Regions from separate parts of the Homo sapiens genome. Here region 2 is linked to region 1. The links are contacts of gene promoters, found by promoter capture Hi-C in human tissues and cell types (Jung and others, 2019). All regions are on one chromosome and are shown on one strand. Each heading gives the region's core, a stretch centred on a gene start or on the middle of the fragment in contact. The rest is flanking DNA. Distances are from core to core; before and after follow the strand shown.

Region 1 (4,284 bases), core at 671-3,170:
TAAACCCATTTCCCCAAGGAAATAATCAGCACCTCTTTCCCAAGACAGCTCCAGGTAAGCAAGCGGTGAAGGGAGCTGCACCACCGCGTTCTCAAAAGTAAAGGCGCTTGCGGAACTGTCTACTGATTTGTAAGCGCGCGCCCATCCACTGTCGCATTTAATCTTCCGAACGACCCACGAGGTGGTAAAGGCGGGGATTATTTTCTTCATTTTACGGGTGAGAAACCGAGGCCCACAGCGCTCGTTCCTGTAGCCGGGGTCAGGCAGGGCACACCTAGGGGAGCCTCTGCCTTCGAGCCCCGGGACCGCCCCGCGGCACCACGAGATCTCCCCAGTCAGCCCGTGTGCGGCTGCGGCCGCATGGCCTCATTGTTTTGGGAAGACGTCCCTCTGTGAGGATCTTGGGCGACTCTATGAACCGCGGGCCCAGCCGCTCTGCGGAACGATCCGCAGCGGGACGCAAAGGGCGCGGCGAGCCCGGCGGCTCCCGGAACAAAGGACAGCAGAGCGCGCGGGGCCCGAAGGGGCGTCCGCCCTAGTGGGCGGCGGAGGGGGATGCGCGCGGAGAGGACCAGCGCGCACCGCCCCGGCCCGCCCCTCAAATCCTCCTTCCTTCTCTCTCGCACTCGGAGACGGTCCCTGGGAGATCCGGGAGGGGGCGCAGCTCGCCGTCCTCGCCGGCAAGTGCCGTCGCAACCTCCCTCTGCCGCCACCCCCACCCCGAGAAGCGCACAAAGAGCGGCCGGGCAGGGAGCGCTCACCTCCCGTCGGGGCGGGGCCGCGGGCGGGGCCGGCGCGCGCTCCGCAGCGCCCGCCTTAAAGGGCCCGCCCGCTCCTCGCGCGCACTGCGCATGCTCGGCCGCGGGGCACGGAGGGGAGGGATGGGAACAGCGGGCGCGCACGCCCGCGCCGCCCGCTGGCGCTGTGGCCTGCGTCCCCGCGGTGGCGGCGCGGCGCTCGTGCGCGTGTCAGAACCCGCAGGGTCTCGGCCCGGGCGCCGGGCGTGTGCTGGACACTGGTGCCATGCATTCCAGAGGTCGCCAGCGGCCGGGCGGGCCGAGCTCGCGCGGCAGCCAGCTTTTAGCTTTCCCATCCTCAGTTTCAGGGCCAGTTGGGCGAAGTGCTGCCCAAGGAGACAGAAATGCAGGCGCGGGCGCGCGCGCGCGCGGTTGCCAGTGTGGGCGGGCGTGTGCTTTTGTGTCTCGTGCGCTCCCGCGCAGGTGGACAACCCGCGCCGGGAGTCACTCTGCCCGTGCGCCCCAAGACCTGGAGTCCCGTTTTCCGTGTCGGAGGGCTCGGGTCGCCCTTTTGGGCGGACTACAGACTCTTCTCACAGAGGAAGCTTTGGCTCCACGGATGGTTTATTTGGAGCCACTAACGGGACTTCCTGAGGACCGCTCTTTTAGAGCCCGGCTCCAGGCATCAGAGTTGGGCGCGTTTTCTTTTCTCAGTCAGGCGAGGGAGGAGACTTAGGGACAATGATTGTCCTCGGCTGATAGGTACATCCAAGTGTCCCGAGCCTGCCAGTCCCGCATTAGACAACAAAGAGAGGCGTTAGCGGCGGCGGGGGAGGGGCGCGGCCGGGAGGAGGACGGGGCGGGCTGCGGCGAGCGCGGGGGTGGGGGGTGGCGCTCTCTCTCCGCTCGCTCAACCCGCGGCCTCCTCCCGCCCCCGGCCTGGCGCGCGCCAATCGCCTCCCCCAGCGATAGTGTCAGTAGCATTGTGGTGTCAGCTCCCGCCTGTGACGTTGCGCCTCCCTCGTCCCCCTCCGGAGTCGTCTGGCTGCAGAGGCTCAGTCAAGAGGCGGGGAGGAGAGGAGGAAAAAGCGCTGAGTGAGGGCGGGCGGGCGGGCGGGAGGGAGGGAGTGGAGGAGCCGGGGAGGGGCTCCTTAAAGAAACGCTTCTGTCGCTCGCCTGCTCGCTTTTCGCTCGGCATTGCGGCCAGCCAGCCGGGCACTCGGGGGGCACGCGCGGCCACCGCTAGAGCTCTGCCCCCACCCCACCCGCCAGCAGGTCTGGGGTGGGGACCCAGGTGGGGGCTCCTGCAGCCACTGCCCGGTGCGGACCGCACGGAGCGACCCACTCCTCCCAGCACCGAGGAAGAAGCAACGGAGCCCTCAGCAGGCGACCGGCCTCCCCGCCCCTGACCACCCGCTTCCCGGCTGCCTTTGTGGCCGCAGCTTCTCGCCGCCGAGCCGAGGGCCGGCGGGGGCGCGGCGCGCACGGCCGAGCGATGCCCAGCTCGCTGTTCGCAGACCTGGAGCGCAACGGCAGCGGCGGCGGCGGCGGCGGCAGCAGCGGAGGGGGAGAGACCCTGGATGACCAAAGAGCCCTGCAGCTCGCGCTCGACCAGCTCTCCCTGCTGGGGCTGGACAGTGACGAGGGCGCCTCTCTGTACGACAGCGAGCCGCGCAAGAAGAGCGTGAACATGACCGAGTGCGTGCCAGTACCCAGTTCTGAGCATGTCGCCGAGATCGTGGGGCGGCAAGGTAGGTCGAGGAGGGATGGGGAGGTGGGTGGGGGTGGTGTAGGGTCTCAGGCCACTGCCTCGAGGGGAAGGCGTGTTCAGTATCGGGATCCGCGGCGTGGGGTGCCTTGGGGAGAGAGGAAGAGCCGCGCGATGGGCCGGCGCCCCAGACAAAGAAAGTGCAGGCAGGCTGTCTCCCGGAGCCGCGCCGCTGCCCTGGCGGGATGCACTTTCTTCTGCTAAAATCACTGCCTTCTCCCCTAACGCCCCCCAACCAGCCCACCTCCAGAAAGACAATTTAAATGTAAGATGCTTGGGGGAGGGGGCCTTTGATCAGTCCTTTGGGAGGAGGAAGGAGGAGGAGTGAGCATAGGATGGGAGGAGGATTCTGGATTTCTGCAAAGCGGAATGGAGCCCAGAGGAGGAACAATGGGTCCCGGGACTCACACCCCACCCCCTACCCCCAGTCGACCAGCGCTGAGGCATCGCGACTTCAGCTGCCTTCCCCGAGCCCCTTCCCCGTGTCTTCAGAGCTGACGGCGCGCCCAGCTGGATCCCAGCGGCATCTCCCCAGATGACTTTTCTGGGATTCTCGGGTTTGGTTCGGGACGACTGCAGTCACTGGGGGAGGGCCAGGCAGCCAATGGGCTGTTCCTCGAGCGCCTCGCGGGTGGGATCCGCTGCCCAGCCCGTGGCGCGGCCCGAGGTCAGTGAGGGAGACGCCCCCTTTCCGCCCATCTCTTGTCCTGCCGTCTCGCTGTCCTGGACGCGGGCTGTCCCCGGTCCCCGCGGTTACCCCAGGATAATGGGCGTGTCTGTCTCTCTCTCCCACTCCCTCCTCCGCACCCTGGTTCGTAGGTTGTAAAATCAAAGCGCTGCGGGCGAAGACCAATACTTACATCAAGACCCCAGTTCGCGGGGAGGAGCCTGTCTTTGTTGTGACGGGCAGGAAGGAGGATGTGGCCATGGCTCGGAGGGAGATCATCTCTGCTGCCGAGCACTTCTCCATGATCCGCGCCTCCCGGAATAAGAACACGGCACTCAACGGCGCGGTGCCTGGGCCGCCCAACCTGCCCGGGCAGACCACCATCCAAGTGCGGGTACCCTACCGCGTGGTGGGGCTCGTGGTGGGGCCCAAAGGCGCCACAATCAAGCGCATCCAGCAGCAGACGCACACGTACATCGTGACGCCCAGCCGGGATAAGGAGCCGGTGTTCGAGGTGACCGGCATGCCAGAGAACGTGGATCGCGCTCGAGAGGAGATTGAGGCGCACATTGCTCTGCGTACCGGCGGCATCATTGAGCTCACAGACGAGAACGACTTCCACGCCAACGGCACCGATGTGGGCTTCGATCTGCATCATGGGTCCGGCGGGTCCGGCCCAGGCAGCCTCTGGAGCAAGCCCACCCCCAGCATCACGCCCACCCCCGGCCGCAAGCCTTTCTCTAGCTACCGCAACGACAGCTCCAGCTCGCTTGGCAGTGCTTCCACAGACTCTTATTTCGGCGGCGGGACCAGCAGCAGCGCAGCGGCTACCCAGCGCCTGGCGGACTACAGCCCCCCTAGCCCCGCCCTGAGCTTTGCGCACAACGGAAACAATAACAATAACGGCAATGGGTACACCTACACAGCGGGGGGAGAAGCCTCAGTGCCATCCCCCGACGGCTGCCCCGAGCTGCAGCCCACTTTTGACCCGGCTCCCGCTCCCCCACCTGGGGCACCACTTATCTGGGCCCAGTTCGAGCGGTCCCCGGGAGGCGGACCTGCAGCTCCGGTATCTTCTTCCTGCTCTTCTTCTGCATCTTCGTCTGCTTCTT
Region 2 (4,284 bases), core at 942-3,441, 1.6 Mb after region 1:
ATAGGTGCAGCAAACCATCATGGCACACACATATGTATGTAACAAACCTGCACATTCTGCACATGTATCCCATTTTTTTGGAAAAAATAAAAACAAAACAAAACAAAACAAATGATCAAAAAAGATTGTAATATTTACACATTCAGATATTTCTATCTTTAACCTCTGGGTTGAACATTCAGTCTGCTAAAGTTTCTCCCAATATTTTTATTGATTTAGGTTTATATTTAAATTTTTAAGTAAATTGGAATTTTAGTATATGATATTTCTTTTGTCTCAGAAGGATAGCCACTAGTTTCATTATTATTTTTAAATAAATTATCCTTTCTTCACTCAAAAAAACAAAAACAAAAACAAAAAATGACCACCATTTTGGAGCCATACTTGCAGAAACAGTAAGTCTTCTGTATATTTCAGAAGTCAAAGACTGCACAACACTCTAGGATCCTCCAAAGGGTATTCTTGTTGTGAGCTACTCGGAGATATGTTTGAGTCTCTGCTCATCTTTCTTGACAGAAACAAGGCTACTGTGAGCAGCTCTTCGATAAAACAAAAACCAGTGTGCCAAGACTTGGCCACAGGTGGGCAGATATGGCCTATTATCCCAAGTTTGCACAAGCATGTTCATGATATAGTTTTATTTTAGTAATTCGTTTGTTGACTATCTCATGTGTTCCTTCAACTTCAACCCCTTTTGCTACAAAAAAAGGATTTATTTTGCACAAGGAACTGGATAAAATTCACGTCAGATTCTTAAAAGCAGCCATAGATATAGGCAGCCCCACTTTACTGTCTTCAAAACAAAGATTCCGGGTTTCAATTCCTGCCGGAAGCCTGAACTGGTAAGACAAATTAGAAATCCATTCTCTGTTTACCTATTTTTTTTTTTTGAGGGCTGTTTTGGAAGAAAACAGTATAAACTGTTTTGTCAACAAACCAAAGAAAAATTATGACTCAGACCACTGAAAGGGAAAGGTTCCAGGCAATAGTGAAGCAGTAAGAATACAACCACTTTGACTTTCACCCACAGGTACATTTTTTATTTGATGATTACAGACAAAAGAATGCCATAATAAAACCAAGTGGGACATGGGCAATACCACTGCCATGGCTGGACTGTGAGGCACTCAGAGAGAGGCAACATCTGACTGGAAGAGCAGCCCGTGGAAGGAGGGACCTGACTTTGCCACTTTATCATCCTGCCAAAGTGGGCCAGCCTCCGAACATCTTGGATGAGGACATCTTCCCAATAAAAGTGGGAATGAAATGTCACAAAATAAAACCTCATGGGAGTGGTGTGCAAACCAGATGAAGTCTGAAACCTGTGACACAAAAGTACCTTGCCAACGAGGCATAGACATCTATTGTACTGCCTGTCCTGTCCTCGTCTCCCTTCTGGGGACAACCCAGAGAACCCTGCCTGAGGAATGTTCCCTCTCTCACCCACAGTCCTTGCGGCCCAGGTAAGTCTGACCCCATGAGGGTTCCTGGGGTGTATACATGCCCAGATCTGGTCAGTCATAGCACGGTGTTCCCTGGCAACAGGGCCTGGTTCAGGAATATCATGCAGGGCTATTCTACCTAAGACCCCTGCTGGAGTTTTCATTGGTAAGATGCAACTGGGCCACCACTTGGGTAGAACCTGCCTGAGAATAAAACCAACACAAGGTGGGGAAAGCTAAGGGACCACGAGGAAGAGAAACAGTGCCTTAAGTAACTGCTAGCACTCTTGGATCTTTACTTGAAGCCAAACGCTTGCCTGGATATCCCAGTTTTATGAAAAATTCCTTTATGGATTGTCTAAGAGTTAGTTTGAACTGGGCTGTCTGTCTTTGGAGCTGAAAGAATCTTGACCAATATAGTATGACTCTCTCTCTCTCTCTCTCTCTCTGCCTCTTTCTCCCTCTCTTTCACACACACACACAAAATATCATCAAAAGCTTCACTGACCACACTACAAATTCTAGCATATTTGCAGAAAGATCTCACTACTCATAATGGATGGGAATTAGCAAACTCACTTACTAATATGGATCTTAGCAAATCAAATTCATCATATCTTTTAATAACAATATTAAAAGAACCATGCAGTGTTACTATGTGCCTTTTATTCAGGAAGATACATATAGCTCAACCTTGGGAAATCTATCAATAGTTCAAATAAGTATATATATATACACATGCTTATCTCAGTAGACACTGAAAAAATACATTAGACATAACTGATTATGTGACTCATAATCACATAGTGAGCGTTCCCAGTGTAAGCAACATGTTCCTAGGGTTAGGAATTCCTGTGTGTTTCCACACTAACTCCTTAATGCTGCCACTGCACAGATCCATTGAGCATCAGTCCTCAACTCTTTGTGGAAATGATCCTCAGGTCTAGGATGATGGTGACGTTGACCCGCTGATGGTAACAGCTAATGTTTACTGGGCACAGACGCCATTAGGTGCTGCACGAAACACATTTCATGTGTCCCCTCATGTACACACAACTGCTTTATGAGGTGGATATCATTATTATTATTATTCTCATTTTACAAGACATCAAAGCAAAGAGGCTAAGAACCTGCCTGAAGTCACACAGCTAAGTGACAGAGCTGAAATATGCAAACCAACATACATTTGATTTAAAAGCAAATGTTTTTAACTACATAATATAAAGTATGATACGTAAGTTAGGAACACGTTTTCTTTTTAAAATTTTTATTCTGTTATAAATTACAAGACCAAAAAGGCTAAGAAACACACTTACGCAAAAAGTGATAATCATGGTTAACTTTTTGGTATATGTAAATCCAGACTCTTCTCCTTACATATATAAATACAAGTAAGTGTAGAAATATTTAATATGAATAATATCACATGTTGGTGGTTGTATACTCTATATGCCTTAATTATTACTCTAGAAATATTATTATACTTACTTAGTAAAAGTTTAATAGTTCTAAACTACACAGCTTTACCTCTGATCACCTCACAAAGTACATGTTGTTATTATTGATAGCCGAAGCATGTTTATCTTTATTCTTGTGCCCATTATTTCCTTTGCTCACTGCATCTGAGAACTTCCATTTGCGGTCACTTACTTAAATCTTCCAGAAGTACACCTTCAGAAGTTCCTTTAGTGAGGTCTCAAATCCTCTCAAATTTTTATCTAAAAATGTTTTATCTCCTCATTCTTAAAAGATAAATTGTCTAAGTATAGAATTCTAGGTTTACAATTATTTTCAACTAGCATATTAAAATATTGTATTGTCGTCTGGCATGCATGATCACTGTTTAGAAGTCATTCATCAATCTAATTGCTGCTCCTGTATAGGTGATATGTCTGCTGTTTGTTACTGCTTCTAAGTTTTTCTCTTTGTTATTTTCTATTTTCCCTACATCTAGTTAAGGTTTGAATATCTCTTTATTTATCTCGCTTGGAATTTGTTGTTGCTCCTGAATCTGAGGCTCAATGACTTTCATCGATTCTGAAAAAGTATCAGCCTCTTCTCTTTGAATCTTAATACACCTAACTTCCCTGTTCTCCCTACCATCTCTACCTGAAACTCTAACTTACATAAGAAGGAGGAGGTCTCACCTCTCTGTCTCCCAGCCACTCTTTTATATTTTTGAACTCTGATTCTGTGCTGAATTCTCTGTAATTTCTTTCATTCTACTTTCTAAGTCATTAATTCTCTATTCATCTGTGTTGAGTAGCTATTTAATTCGTCCATGCTTTACTAATTCTGTTTATTTTTCAATGCTGTAATTTCCTGACACCCACTTGGACTAAAGGACTGCCAGCCAGCTGACTGCCTTCAACTGGACCCTGAAACCTGGTAATGAGTATCTCACTAGGAACCACAATTAAAAGAAGATCAGAGATTAGCTTCTAATTTTCCTGAGCTGCATAAGGCCCAAGGTGTCGTAAATACCCTAGGAAAAAGGTGCACCTTCCTCAAAACAAATGATGAGACTGAATGTTTAAACAGCCAAGCTGGAAGAAATAAGTTGGGTTTAATTTGATGGAGAAAATACAGCAATAAGATGGAGTTTGCACTCAGCTACCATCAGACAATTCATATAACCTATACAATGTCATTCGGTGCATTGTTTCAAAACTAGTGAACTATAGGTTAAAAATGACTTTCTTTGTACCATTAAGTACTTTTTAACATTTATTTTTATTGATTTTAATATTGTGATGACAGCTTTCCTTCCTTCCTTCTTTCTTTCCCTCCCTCCCTCCCTCCCTCCTTTCCTTCCTTTCTTTTCTTTCTATTTCAATAGCTT

What was found. The method cuts DNA at HindIII sites, captures the fragments that hold promoters and counts their contacts. A contact is called where the count stands out against the background at its distance.
Region 2: a contact is called between a fragment that was not itself captured here and the fragment with the promoter of MEX3B in region 1, in 1 of the 25 tissues and cell types used here (dorsolateral prefrontal cortex).

What each region holds. Positions count from the first base shown.
Region 1 is chr15:82,043,654-82,047,937 of GRCh38, reverse strand. MEX3B (mex-3 RNA binding family member B) reads left to right here and starts at 1,920. Exons shown (of 2, transcript NM_032246.6): 1 at 1,920-2,488; 2 at 3,325-4,284. The coding sequence starts at 2,233. RefSeq lists silencers at 671-990, 1,841-2,140 and an enhancer at 671-1,617. The HindIII fragment of the contact is 10,437 bases long and covers 1-4,284 here.
Region 2 is chr15:80,421,384-80,425,667 of GRCh38, reverse strand. All of the region lies in intron 1 of ARNT2 (aryl hydrocarbon receptor nuclear translocator 2), which reads right to left. Among named protein-coding and RNA genes, the nearest start is that of ARNT2, 19 kb to the right of the region's middle. The HindIII fragment of the contact is 6,048 bases long and covers 1-4,284 here.